Regions from separate parts of the Homo sapiens genome. Here regions 2, 3 and 4 are each linked to region 1. Evidence: promoter capture Hi-C in 16 types of primary human blood cells and fetal thymus (Javierre and others, 2016). All regions are on one chromosome and are shown on one strand. Each heading gives the region's core, a stretch centred on a gene start or on the middle of the fragment in contact. The rest is flanking DNA. Distances are from core to core; before and after follow the strand shown.

The links. Contacts are between HindIII fragments. The CHiCAGO score rates a contact against its expected background, and 5 or more counts as called.
Region 2: a fragment that was not itself captured here is called in contact with the fragment with the promoter of ZNF222 in region 1 in 2 of 17 cell types (non-activated CD4 T cells and total CD4 T cells); the score reaches 6.2 in non-activated CD4 T cells.
Region 3: a fragment that was not itself captured here is called in contact with the fragment with the promoter of ZNF222 in region 1 in 3 of 17 cell types (non-activated CD4 T cells, fetal thymus and naive CD4 T cells); the score reaches 5.5 in non-activated CD4 T cells.
Region 4: a fragment that was not itself captured here is called in contact with the fragment with the promoter of ZNF222 in region 1 in 1 of 17 cell types (non-activated CD4 T cells); the score reaches 5.9 in non-activated CD4 T cells.

The regions. Positions count from the first base shown.
Region 1 is chr19:44,023,263-44,026,921 of GRCh38, reverse strand. It overlaps ZNF222 (zinc finger protein 222), which reads right to left and starts at 1,543. Exons shown (of 4, transcript NM_001129996.2): 1 at 1,444-1,543. The coding sequence starts at 1,485. ZNF222-DT (ZNF222 divergent transcript) reads left to right here and starts at 1,640. Exons shown (of 3, transcript NR_184028.1): 1 at 1,640-1,807; 2 at 1,903-2,024; 3 at 3,023-3,659. RefSeq lists enhancers at 1,248-1,297, 1,528-1,577. The HindIII fragment of the contact is 1,542 bases long and covers 187-1,728 here.
Region 2 is chr19:43,842,128-43,845,402 of GRCh38, reverse strand. The region is part of intron 6 of ZNF283 (zinc finger protein 283); the gene reads right to left. Among named protein-coding and RNA genes, the nearest start is that of ZNF283, 16 kb to the right of the region's middle. The HindIII fragment of the contact is 4,496 bases long and covers 1-3,275 here.
Region 3 is chr19:44,174,602-44,177,881 of GRCh38, reverse strand. It overlaps ZNF226 (zinc finger protein 226), which reads right to left. Exons shown (of 6, transcript NM_001032373.2): 6 at 197-2,384. The coding sequence ends at 208. Among named protein-coding and RNA genes, the nearest start is that of ZNF226, 11 kb to the right of the region's middle. The HindIII fragment of the contact is 8,400 bases long and covers 1-3,280 here.
Region 4 is chr19:44,245,709-44,249,409 of GRCh38, reverse strand. No RefSeq gene overlaps it. Among named protein-coding and RNA genes, the nearest start is that of ZNF233, 12 kb to the left of the region's middle. The HindIII fragment of the contact is 3,299 bases long and covers 1-3,074 here.

The DNA.
Region 1 (3,659 bases), core at 294-2,793:
TCTTGAGAGACATAGGTCAGCTTATAGATTTCCTACTTATTCTGTTTGTGTCCTGACAATGACTGATTAGGCAATAGGGGTTTGGAATGGAGACTGCACACACCAGTCAACAGGGTGTGTCCTGAATAAATAGTGGGTAAAGGACATTTACTGAGATGCTATCTCTAACTCCACTTCAGGAAAGCTTGCTGCAGAGTTAGAGTGATATAGTCCAAATGCTCTGTTTGAGTCGCGGGCCCTTTGACGAAAATGAGACTGAGGCAGGAGAATCACTTGAACCCGAGAGGCGGAGGTTACAGTGAGCCAAGATTGCACCACTGCACTCCAGCCTAAGCAACAAGAGCGAAACTCTGTAAAAAAAAAAATATATATATATATAGAGAGAGAGAGAGAAAGAAAATAGTAGATAAGGTTAAAAAAATTAAAAAGCAAAAAGCAAACAAACAAAAACTCCTATAGAAGTCCAAGCCCCTGAGCCTTGCCTCAAGGTGCCTTCAATCAAGTCCTAACTTACGTTCTCCACCTGTTCCCAGCTAGTACCTCTGCCTCAATGAGAATTGCATTCAAGAGATGATCAACTCAGGCTCTAACCTGGACTGCCTAGGTTTCAACTCCTGCTCCACCTGTGTCTCACGCCCATCTTTAAAATGAAAAAAGCAGCACCTCTCCACAGTGCCACTGTGAAGATCATGTATTTTGGGGTATAAAGTACTTGGAATAAAGTTACCAATTAAGGCTTAATCATTATCGACACCCATGCCCGAGGGACAAATCCTACACACTCTCGGTTGAGGTAAGCATCTCTGTCAAAGAAAAAAAGCCAAGGATCACTCACGTAGAGCTTTGCCATCAGTAGCCAAGAAGTCCCTTCCTGCAGCTCTTTTAGAAAGGTCGGGCTGGGGAAAAAGAAAGCTGTGAAACACCCTGACCGTTTTGCCGTCCCCCATAAAAGTTAAATGCTCCCCTCACTTTCCTAAAAAGAGGTCAGAAGGCGTCAGGGATCATCCAGCGTCCTGCAGGGATCAGGCAGAAGGGCCGGCGCCCCTGCAGCTGGAGCTCTGACCCCACCAGAGGACCTGACAGGCTTCGTGGGAAATTAACAAGAGACCACCAGACACCGAGTGACAGGGACTGCTTTTAAGGCTCTCATTTGTGTTACCTCTTTCAGGTCCCAAAATGAATCCATTAGGATGGTCCGAAAAGTCCCGTTACAAAACAAACAAACAAACGAACCAGCAATGGAAGATAAACGGACATTAAGTGACACTCCACACCACACTGAAAGGGGCTGCACACGTAGGGAGGAGGGAGGCGGACTAAGCGAGGTCAAAGTAGGGCACACCGGGCCGCGCCAATCCCACTCCCTGAGACCCTAGCAGAGCCCCCCGACGCCAGAAGGCTCAGCTGACTGGAACGGCAATCCCCGCCCGCGCCCCTCCAAACCTCTGCTCTCCGCCCAGGCTTCTTTTCTCCTGAATCGATCATTGGGTGGTTGCGAGCCCCAAGGAAAGGAGACTCGTTCGGAAGGACTCGCAAGATGTGGAAATGACTCAAACTACTGTGGTAAATGAAATAGCAACGTCACAGTTGGGGACCGGAAGTGCTCGAGCCTCCACAGAGCGTGTGGACTCCACTTCCCAGAATTCCCCGGACTCGCCCGTGTGAGACAAAGGGCCCGCGACTCAAACAGAGCATTTGGACTATATCACTCTAACTCTGCAGCAAGCTTTCCTGAAGTGGAGTTGGAGATAGCATTTCAGTAAATGTCCTTTACCCACTGCTTATTCGGGACACACCCTGTTGACTGGTGCGTGCAGTCTCCATTCCAAACCACTATTGCCATTCCTATCGCTTCCATAAAGCCTAAGAAATCAAATATTTTCTTTCTCTGCCTTCATCTAGCTAGAAATTTTCATGGGACACAATTTTGGGAAGTGAGACATTAGGAGAAGTGAGCTGTCCTCTCCTGACAAGAAATGTGCTTGGCAGGCTGTGAGTACACGAGGAGTTGAAAGAGTAAAAAGGTGATCGTCTCAGTGGACTGTAGGTATTGGCGAGGTTCTAATATTACTGATGCTAGCATGCTGGTGGGACCAAGGTGGAAATACAAGTCAAAGTTGTTGGAGAGTAGTGCTGCAAATTATTATGGAGGAATATTTGCTAGAAAATGACGAGGTCTAAAATATGACCATGGGAGAGAGTGTCCCTTGATATTTCACATGAATCTCAGGTGGATTTTTTCATTTCTGAGAAAAATGTTACTGTGATTAAGGATTGCATTGAATCTATAGATATAGGTATTGACAGCCTTGCAATATCAAGTCGCCCAATCCATTAATAATGGATATATCTCCATTTATTTGCGCCTTCTTTAATTTTTTTTTTTTTTTTTTTGAGACAGAGTCTCACTCTGTCGCCCAAGCTGGAGTGCAGTGGCACAATCTTGGCTCACTGCAACCTCCGCCTCCTGAGTTCAAGCGATTCTCCTGCCTCAGCCTCCCAAGTAGCTGGGATTACAGGCACGTACCACCATACCTGGCCAATTTTTGTATTTTTAGTGAAGACAGGGGTTTCACCAGGTTGGCCAGGCTGATCTCGAACTCCTGGCCTCAAGTTATTCGCCTGCCTGGGCCTCACAAAGTGCTGGGATTACAGGCATAAGCCACCATGCCTGGGGTGCCTTCTTTAATTTTCTTTAGTAAGATGTTGCAAAATTCAGTGTCCAAGTGTTTCTTGTCATTGGTTAAGACAGTTCCTAAGTAATTTATTTATTTAATGCTATTGCAAAGGGAACTATTTTCCTTTTCAGATTAATTGTTTTTGTATAGAAATACAACTGCTTCTTCTATGTAGATATTTTTCCTGCAACTTTCTGACTTTACTAGCTCTAAGAGTTTTTTTTTCTTGTGAATTCTTTAGAATTTTTATATATAAGAACATGTCATTAGCATATAGACAATTTTACCTCTGTTTCCAATTTTAATAGCTTTATTTTCTTTTTCTATCTAATTGTTCTGCATAGAACTTCCAATACTACATTGACTAAATGTGGGAAAAGTGGAGAAAACTCATTGTGTTCCTGATATTAGAAGAAAAGCTTTCAGTCCTTCACCATTGAGTATGACAATCAGCTCTGAGAATTTCCATATATAGCCTTTATTTTGCTGGGGTAGTTTATTCTCCTTCTAGTTATTTGGTATTTCAATCATGAAAAGGTGCTAGGTGCTGAATTTTGTGAAACTGAATGTTCTGCATTCACTGACATGATGTGATTTATACCTTCCACTCTGCTCATGTGGAGTATTACATTGATATTTGTATGTTGAACCATAATTATATTCGCCTTCCAGGAATAAAACAGTTCGGTCACTAAGTGTAATCCTTTTAATATGCTGCTGGATCTTGCTGGTATTTTGCTGGTGAATTCTTGCATCAGTATTCATAAGGGATATTGGTGTATAATTTTATTGAATTGTCTTTTTCTGGTTTGGCATCAGGGTAATACTGACCTGACAGAAGGATCAAAGAAGTGTTCTCTCTTCTTGCATTTTTGGGAAGAGGTTGAGCAGCTATGGTGTTAAATGTTCCTTAAATGTGTTGAAGCGTTTGCCAGTGAAGCCATCTGATCCTGGGCTTTTCTACATTGGGAGGTTTTGGAT
Region 2 (3,275 bases), core at 523-3,022, 180 kb after region 1:
TTCAGAATAATGAAACAGATTGTAACAGATTATGTCTTTCACATAAAATCTGCCTTTCAGGTTTCCTAAAAGGCCACTGAGCAAGCACAAAGATTTGCTCTTTCGCTTACAAAAGATACTAGAAACAATCAGGTTTCTTTGACATAATCCAGAATTTACTTAGCCCAAAACTACTATGACTGTGTTTTTGTTTATATAACCCCAGGTATATTAAAAACCAAAAGCTGACAATAAAAAGAGAAGTTTGGCCTTTCTAGGCTAATAAGTTACTTGTTATTAAAAGGTACCTGTCCCAGCAATAATGTACTTGTCAAGTTGGAGAAGATGTATATTCATATTCATGTACCCACAGGTTATGACTTTCTATAAATTAATTTTAAGAAAGATTGTGTACCTAGGTTTAAATACCCTTGTCAATTTGGAACAATCGTAATACTCTTTCATTGTCCATAATGTGTTTTGACTTCAAGGTAGTCACTTACTTTATCCTTATAAATTAATTAGGTTTTATACCTCAATAGAGGATTTAATTTTTTTCCATTATGAAGTTGTTGTTTATTATATTAAATTAACCAGAGCCATTGAGCCTTAACAACTACAAGAAGGTTTTTCCAAACTCAAATCTACTGACATTTGGGCCCAAATCATTCTTGGTTGTGCGGGGTTTTCATGTGCCTTGCCTGTTGATGACTGTATAACATTTTGGTTGAGCTATTAAATGATGGATGATTATTGTGATGTGAATGTGGGAAGTAAGTTTAATCATATATAGTTGGTCACAGGTCTAAACTGCACTATTGCTGTTTCATTTAACAATGTCTTGCTGCTTTTTATGCATTAACATTTGGGTGTAAAGATTCTGTGGATAACCAAAACAAAGCCACAGTATTTAAGCTGACCAACCTAATATTCCAACTGAATATGGAGGTGACCAATTATGAACTAAAAGGAGTACAGTTTTGTACAACATAGCATCAGTAGTTTAGCGAATTTTAATTTCTATGTAAGGCTTAGATTTTAATTTAACATTATAGATTTAGATTTAACATTTTAGTTACTTACTACTTATGTTTTATGTAAGGTTTTACAGTGTCAGTAAATAAATATGGGTTTAACTTCTTAAATGTCAAGAAAAATCATTGAGGACCCAAAAGACTTTTAGTTTATGTAGTTATATATTTTGATATTTGTCATGTTAAAAATTTAAACAGAGAAATTTTAAGATATTTACTAATTCACTTAAAATAACAATAAACCATTAACTGTTAACATAAATGATTTGTTATAAAAATAATCTTTTCTAAAACAAAACAAAAGATGTTTTAAATTTTTTCAAATCTTTTAAATGGATGGTTTAATAAAAGACACCTGGATTCTCATATCTGCTTCTGCATTCAATCTATGGCAATATGTTATTTAGGTTGAAATATATGAAGAAAATCATATATATGAAGTATATGAAGAAAATCTAGCCTCTCATGGTACATAGTTGGAAAATGGCAGAATATTTTACTAGTCCATGCAGATAACTGTGGATATTTTTCTTTGACACCACCCTAAAACTTAAGAAATGGTAGTGTCTGGCAGGTTAAGTACAATGTGGAATATAAAATCATATCTGTGAACTTTTCATACTATGTTACATTGCACTTTGAATAATCTTTTATCCATGTGTAATTTTGTAACATCATACACTGGTCATTTGGAAAATACTGATTCAAAGAGTTATGCAGATCTTTGAAATGTTGACGTAGTTCACTATACAACATCAAAAAATCACATGTTAATATTACCACCCATCTCATAAAAAATCTTAATGTATTAGGAAGCTATAAAGCTCAAAATTATGAATAAACATTTTACAAAATTCTAATTTTAACATGACAGATTGAATTATATCATTGGCAACAAATATTAGTTATTTTTGAAGTGACAGGCTCACTTGCAAGAAAATGTTTTCCTACTGCCCAAGTCTGAACAAACAAAGTTTTTCATTCTTTGGTGAAAAATATGGTGTTTTGTCAAAAAAGCAGTTGGTTTAACTCACAATTTTTTTGGGGGTGGGGACGTAGTCTCACTTTGTCACCAGGCTGGAATGCAGTGGCACGATCTTGGCTCACTGCAACCTCCGCCTCTCGGGTTCAAGCGATTCTCCTGCCTCAGCCTCCCGAGTAGCTGGGACTACAGGCGCGTGCCACCATGCTCAGCTAATTTTTGTATTTTTAGTAGAGATGGGGTTTCACCATGTTGGCCAGGATGGTCTCGATCTCTTAACCTTGTGATCTGTCCGCCTTGGCCTCCCAAAATGCTGGGATTACGGGCATCAGCCACAGAGCCTGGCCTTTAACTCACAACTTAAACAACTGTACAAGTGGTTTTCTTCAAGGCAACCATCATACTTTGGTATACAGCAGAAGACCTTAATGGATACTTCCCATTTCATTACATAGAATATTTTTTAAATGTATATATAATCAAGGGTTGAGATTTAATAAAATGAATACTGCTTCTTCAAGATGTTCTTAAGTGAAAATGGGTTTTTTCTTAACACATTTTCTTTGTGTGTGGAGGTAAAGAATATGATGATTACTAGTACTATTTGGTGCCTCTGCCTTTGCTCATGCTAAAGCAGAGAAGATTCACCATGGCTTCTACACCACCAGTGGAAGTGTCACCACAGTGAAAAAGGCAAACCTCTCAGTATTGTTATGAGAATATTTTTCACTTTGTGAAAGGTTTGGCCCACTGAAAGGTTCTTGGGAACTCCCAGGGGTCTTCAGTCCACAGTTTGAGAACCACTGCCCTACCTAGAGTAAGAATTATGTCCAGGACTAAGGATAAAACCAAACTGTACCTGCCTTCAAAAATCAACTCTTAAAAAGATCATTGTGATCTGCTATTAATTTAACTGCTTGCCTGAACAGTTTAACTATTAGGAAGATAATAAAATCCCCAAGTCACTACAACATGGCATCTACAATGGCCAGTATACAATGAGAAATTGTAAGACCGGTAAAGAAGCAGGAAAATTTGACACAAGATTTAGAGAAAATACAGTCAATAAAAGCAGACCCACAAAACCAAATGTAAATTCTATAACTATAAAATGTAGGTGGAATGAAATCTTTATTGGATAGGCTTAACAATAATTGGACACTATCAAAGAAAAAAAAAACAGTGACTTCAAGACAGGTAAATAGGTATTACCAAACTGAAGTACAAAGAGTAAAAAGACTGGGGGTTGCACCTCCGTGACTGGTGGCACCATATAAGTG
Region 3 (3,280 bases), core at 525-3,024, 150 kb before region 1:
CCTGAGAAAAATTTCACTCTTAACACCCCTCTTCTAAGTAACATTTTATAAAGGTCAAGGTTCTGACTAAAGAAGCCCTTGCTATGCTAATCATAAAGATTGTTTTGTTGTCTTTGGACCACTGGGACATGAGGAGCTACGGCTGAAACACTGACTTTGAGACTTGATAACTGGAAGAATTCAAATGACACGAGTCTTCACAAAGAATCATTTTATAGATTTTTTTTCCTGTGTGGATTCTCTGATGTTCTTACCACCCCTATTACTTTTATAGGATTTATCACCAACATGGATTCTGTGATGAACTGTAAGATTTGATCGCCAACTGAAGCTCTTACCACATATCTCACATTTATAAGGTTTCTCCCCAGTGTGAACTCGCTGATGAGACTGTAGTTGTGAAGACCGACTGAAGACTTTACCACACACATCACATTTGTATGGTTTCTCTCCTGTGTGGACACTCTGATGAAGTTGAAGACTTGAGGCCTGACTGAAGTACTTACCACACTCCCCACATTTATATGGTTTTTCTCCTGTGTGCACCCTCTGATGCATGTCAAGGTTCAAGCTCCACTTGAAGCCCTTCCCACACTCATCACATTTGTATGGCTTATCTCCAGTGTGGACTTTTTGATGGGCTTGAAGATGTGCACTCCGACCGAAACTCTTCCCACATTCTTCACATTTGAATGGTTTTTCTCCACTGTGGACTCTCTGATGGGCCAAAAGATTTGAGGCCTGCCTGAAGACCTTCCCACACTCCTCACAATTATATGGTTTCTCTCCTGTGTGGATCCTACAGTGAATTTTAAGATCTGCTCTACGACTAAATCCCTTGCCACACTCTTCACATTTGTATGGTTTCTCACCCGTATGGATCAGCTGGTGAATCTGAAGTCGTGAGCTCTGATTGAAACCCTGCCCACACTCCTCACACTTAAAAGGTTTCTCTATACTGTGGGCCTTCTGATGGATTTGAAGATACGAACTTTGACTGAAGCCCTTCCCACATATCTCACATTTATAGGGTTTCTCTCCTGTGTGGACCACTAGATGAACTTGATAATGGGAATTCCTCCTGAAGCTCTTCCCACACTCATTGCATTTGTATGGCTTCTCTCCAGTGTGGACTCTCTGATGGGCTTGAAGATTTGAACTCAGAGTAAAGCCTTTCCCACATACAGTACATATGTATGACTTCTCTCCAGTGTGAACTCCCTGATGGGCCTGAAGACTTGAAGGCCGACTAAAGCCTTTACCACATTCCTCACATTTATAGGGTTTTTCTCCTGTGTGGACTCTCTGATGAATGTAAAGATTTGAGCTACAAATGAAGCCCTTACCACACTCCTCACATTTGTATGGTTTCTCTCCTGTATGAACTCTTTGATGGGATTGAAGATGTGAATTCCGACTGAAGCTCTTACCACATGCATCACATTTGAATGGCTTCTCCCCAGTGTGGAGTCTCTGATGGTCCTGAAGATGAGAGGCCTGACTGAAGGCCCTCCCACACTCCTCACAATTATAAGGTTTCTCTGCCGTGTGGACCTTGCAATGAACATTAAGTGCTGATCTACGACTGAAACCTTTCCCACATTGCTTACATTTGTATGGTTTCTCTATCACGTGGACTTTCTGATGGGTCTGTAGATGAGCGCCCTGACTGAATTCCTTACCACACTCATCACACTTAAGTTTTTCTCCCACATGTACTTTCTGATGAACAGGAAGAACTGGGCTGTAACAGAAGCCTTTTCCACGCTCAACACATGTAAGAGACTTCTCTCCTGATTGTAACTGCTGATGAAGATCAAAGCTGGAGAGATCACTGAAGGGTTTTTTACACTCATTACACTGGTACGATTTCTGTCCTGTGTGAATCATGCTATTGTGATCAAATGTCAAAATCTTCATGTTGTCTTTTTCATAATCATTGGGTCTATAAGATTTTTCACTTTTGTGTACTCTATGACCATCATGATGTGAAATCCAACCGATGGGATCAACACCCTTCTTACATTGACATAATTTATTTTTTATGGAAATTTGCTGATCTCTGTTCAATCTCTGTGACTCAGTCAGGAATGTTTTCCTCCAAGAATCCTGGGTTCTCAAGATAGGAAACTCTGGATTCCCAGTATTATTGGGACCATCTGCTTTATTTACTATATAGTTCTCATCTTCAGAAATTTGAATAGACAGTTCTGTCCCTACCTGGTAAGGGAAATCACCTTGTTTGTGACACTGAGAATTATTGATCATGGAGTCTTGACACCTGGTTAAGTCATTTGCAATTTGTTGCCAGATTTGCCAACAAGAAAGCTCTTCTTCTGATTCTCTGTCTTGAACAGTAATTAACTTACTTTGATTTTTCTCTCCTGTAAGGACAAAGGATTCAGAGAGATAGTGAATTTTTTTGTTCAAAGATTTAAGATTTCACACTGAGGACAGAGTAAAAGACTTTAATGAACCTCGGGATAGTTCTGCTCATCTTTTGTGACACATTTGAAGTTTCTGGTTTACATACTGACAGAAACCAAGAGATGGTCCAAAACCAAGAGATGGTCCACCAAGCTCCCAATTGCTAAGCACTAATGAAACCCATTTAAAAACACAACTACTGACATACTATCTAAATTTTTTATTCCATGTCTTTCCTACCATAATATGGTATCAATAAGGAAAAACATTTTGTAGTGCTCACAGTTTACAACCACAGCCCAGAAGTTACTGCCCGGCAGTCATTCATAGTCACTCAAGGAATGTATGCATATATGAGTCCTTCCAACATTTCTTCATATATAAATGACTTCCAACATTTCTTCTAACTTCAAATCCAAGTTTAAGTTTGAGCCAGGTCATAGAGCAAAAGAGCTTTTACAAGTAAGGTATCTGAAATACAAAAAGAACTAGAAAGTACAGTTTTGCTGCAAAGTTGAAAAGCTGTACCTGAGGTAGGGGTACACCAAGTGAGTTATTGCTGAAGAGAAAAATCAAAGTTGATAATCACTTGGGGTGAAAGGAAAGCATGAAGACCTATGCACTGGATCCTTCTAAGGCTTTTGCACTGAGTCAAAATTGGAAGGCTAGCAAAGAATGCTGTCTCTTTGAAAGCAAGGTATAGAAAGTTTCTGGATGTAGATATGTTTGTCTTTAACAAGAATGTTTTCCAAATTGACAAAGTGGTCTACTAGTCAATTGTGAAATAAATTTAATAGCTTGTGATATTTAGGAAAAAAAAACAGATAAAGTATCATATCAGAATAATCACAAG
Region 4 (3,701 bases), core at 176-2,675, 220 kb before region 1:
ACAATACTCTTCCCATGGAGTGAGGCTGTAGGGAAATGTAATACTTTCTAAAATTGTGTAAATATGAAGATATGGATGTGTAACTGTCTATATGTATTATAAATGAGAGAATACTGAGACTCTAATCAAATAATTAAACTAGGCAAAGGAAAAAATAAGGCCCATTAATGCATTTGGGGAAATTTGCTTTAAATTTTTTTCTATACTAGGTAATATATTTACATGGTACAAAATTAAAATAATATAAACAATATACCTTGAAAACTCATCCCATTCTGACCCAAGGTTGTTTGCCTATACCAAAAGCCCATGTACCACATGTAATCTTTGTGTTTTTTTTTTGTTGGTTTGTTTTTTTTTGAGATGGAGTCTTGCTCTGTCACCCACGCTGGAGTGCAATGGCACAATCCTGGCTCATTGCAACCTCTGCCTCTTGGGTTCAAGCGATTCTCCTGCCTCAGCCTCCCAAGTAGCTGGGATTACATATGTGTACCGCCACGCCTGGCTGATTTTTGTATTTTTAGTAGAGATGGAGTTTCACCATGTTGCCCAGGCTGGTCTCGAACTCCTGACCTCAAGTGATCTGTCTGCCTCGTCCTCTCAAAGTGTTGGGATTACAAGCATAAGTCATCACGCCCGACCAGTGTTAGTTTTTCGTGTATACTTTCAGTGGGTCTTTGTGCACATGAAAAATTCAAGAAGTATATGCAAATGAGCTTTTTCTAATGTACTAAAATATACACCCTTCCATCCTTTGGTTTATTACATGAAGAATGTAGTAAGAAACAAGAGTTTCTAGGTGAATGAATATATTTCTGTGGATTTTCAATGGTAGTATCTGTATTTTTAAAATAAAAATAAAAACAATCACACCTAGACACATCATATTGAAACTGCAGTAAATTCAAAATAAAGAGAAAATTTTGAAGGCGGCCAAAGGCAGGGGATGGGTGAGGAGACACAATACATACAAAGAATCAAAGATGAGAATTACAGGACATGTCTCATTAGAAACTATGCAAACCAGAATACAAAGAGTATAGAAAGAAAAAAACAACAACACATAATTCCATACCCAGCAAATACATCCCTCGAAAATGAAGATATAATGAAAACTTTTTAAGACAAAAACTGAAAAAATTCAGTAGCAGCCAACCAGCAGTACAAGAAACATTAAAGAAAGTTCTTCAAACAGAAAGGATGCTATATAAAATTTGGTAAACTTGCAAAGTAATGACGATTTCCAGAAGCAGTTAAGAATTTAACTTTTAATTGCTCTGAAAGACACTTGACTCCTAAAGCAAAAATAATAGCAATGTACTGTGGCTTTATAGCATATGCCAACGACAAATGCTTGACAATTGGACAAAAGTTTGAAGGAAGGAATTGGGAGTGTACAGTTGTATAAGTAAAGAGTATATATTCAAAATCTCATTAACCAAACACCACCTGTTTCCCAAAAACCTAGTGAAATAAAATAAATAAAATAGTATATATTATTTAAAGAGAGGCTGTCATTAACTATAGATGAATATTGTAAATTCTACAGTAAACGCTAAAACAATAATGAAAAGAGGTACAGGTTGAGTACCCCAACCTGAACATCCAAATGCTGTAAAATCTGAATTTTTTTGAGTGCTTACATGACAACTCAAAGGAAATGCTGATGGGAGTGTTTTGGATTTCAGATGTTCAGACTGCAAATACTCAACTGATAACTACAATACAAATATTCCACAATCTGAAAAAATCCGAAATCTGAACACTCCTAATCCCAAACATTTTGGGTAAGGGATATTCAGCCTGTAAAAATAAGCTAATTGTGGATACGATATGAAATCATATTTAAAAATTAGCAAAAAATGTGTAACAAAAGGAAAAGAAACAAAGAAGGTAACCAAAAATAGATTTATATCTGACCATATCAATTACTAAATGATATATAAATGACATAAACATACCAATTATAACAAATCATCAGATTGGAGAATAAAGCAACAATAATCAAATTAAAGCTGGAGTGGCTATACTACTATTAGGCAAACACTAATAAAAGGCTACAGTGGGCCGGGCGCGGTGGCTCAAGCCTGTAATCCCAGCACTTTGGGAGGCCAAGGCAGGCGGATCACGAGGTTAAGAGATTGAGACCATCCTAGCTAACATGGTGAAACCCCATCTCTACTAAAAATAGAAAAAAATTAGCTGGGCATGGTGGCGGGCGCCTGTAGTCCCAGCTACTTGGGAGGCTGAGGCAGGAGAATGGCATGAACCTGGGAGGCAGAGCTTGCAGTGAACCGAGATCGTGCCATTGCACTCCAGCCTGGGCGACAGAGCAAGACTCCCTCTCAAAAAAAAAAAAAAAAAAAAAAAAAAAAAAAAAAAAAAAGGCTATAGTGGTGATATTAAAAGCAAACAAAGTAGGCATCAAAACAAGGATTATTACCAGAAATAAGAGGGACATTAAATAATAATAAAGAGGTAATTTCACCAAAAAGACATAAAATTAAATGTGTATGCACAAAACAACAGAGCTTCAAAATATACAAAGCCAAAACTGATAAAGACAAAGACTAAACAACCCACAATTAACAGCTGGAGACTTCATTCTCATTAATCAATAAAACAAATAGAAAACCAGTAAGTCATGATGAACTCTTGCCGTGATGGAAAAAAGAAAAGAAAACCAGTAAGGATATAGAAGACCTCAACAACATTATTAATCAACATCATTAAAACATACACCAAGATGGATCATACTCTGGGCCATGTAATTCACTGCACCAATTTAAAAGAATTGAAACCACACAAAGTATATTCTCATATCACAACAAAATTAAATGAGAATCAATAACAAAACAATCTCAGGAAAATCCCCCACTACCCTTAGAAATTAAATAACCCATGGGTCAAAAAAAACCCCATGAGTTAGAAGAGAAAAGGGAAAATAAGAAATAAAAATAAAAAGATAACATATCAGAACTTGTAGAATGCCACTAAGGCAGCATTTAGAGAAAAATTTAGAGCATGAAATGCTTATATTGGAAGAAAAGGAACTTACATCAATTATCTAAGCTTTTTTAAGCTTAATAAACTTTAAAAAAAAAAGCTGGGTGCAATGGTTCACACCTGTAATCCCAGGATTTGGGGGAGGCCAAGGCAGGAGAACTGCTTGAGCCCAGGAGTTTGAGACTAGCCTGGGTAACAGAGTGAGACCCTGTCTATGAAAAAAGAAAAACCCCTAAGCAAGAAAGAAGAAAACAACAAAAATGAAAGCAGAAATCAACCAAACGAAAAGGATAACAATAGTGAAGAAAAAGCAATAAACTTTGAAAAGAACAAGAAAACAAAACAGAAATTACCAATTGTAGGACTGAAAGAAGGATATGATTACAGATCCTAATGACAGGCCAGGTGCAGTGGCTCACGCCTGTAATCCCTGCACTTTGGGAGGCTGAGGCAGGTGGATCACTTCAGGGGTCAGGAGTTTGAGACCAGCCTGGCCAACATGGCAAAACCCCCTCTCTACTAAAAATACCAGCTACCCAGGAGGCTGAGGCAGGAGAATCACTTAAACCTGCCCCGGAGGCAAAGGGTGCTGTGAATGCAAGATTGTGCCACTGCACTCCAGCCTGGGAGACACACACACACACACACACACACACACACACACACACGCCAGATCCTAATGACATTAAAATGAT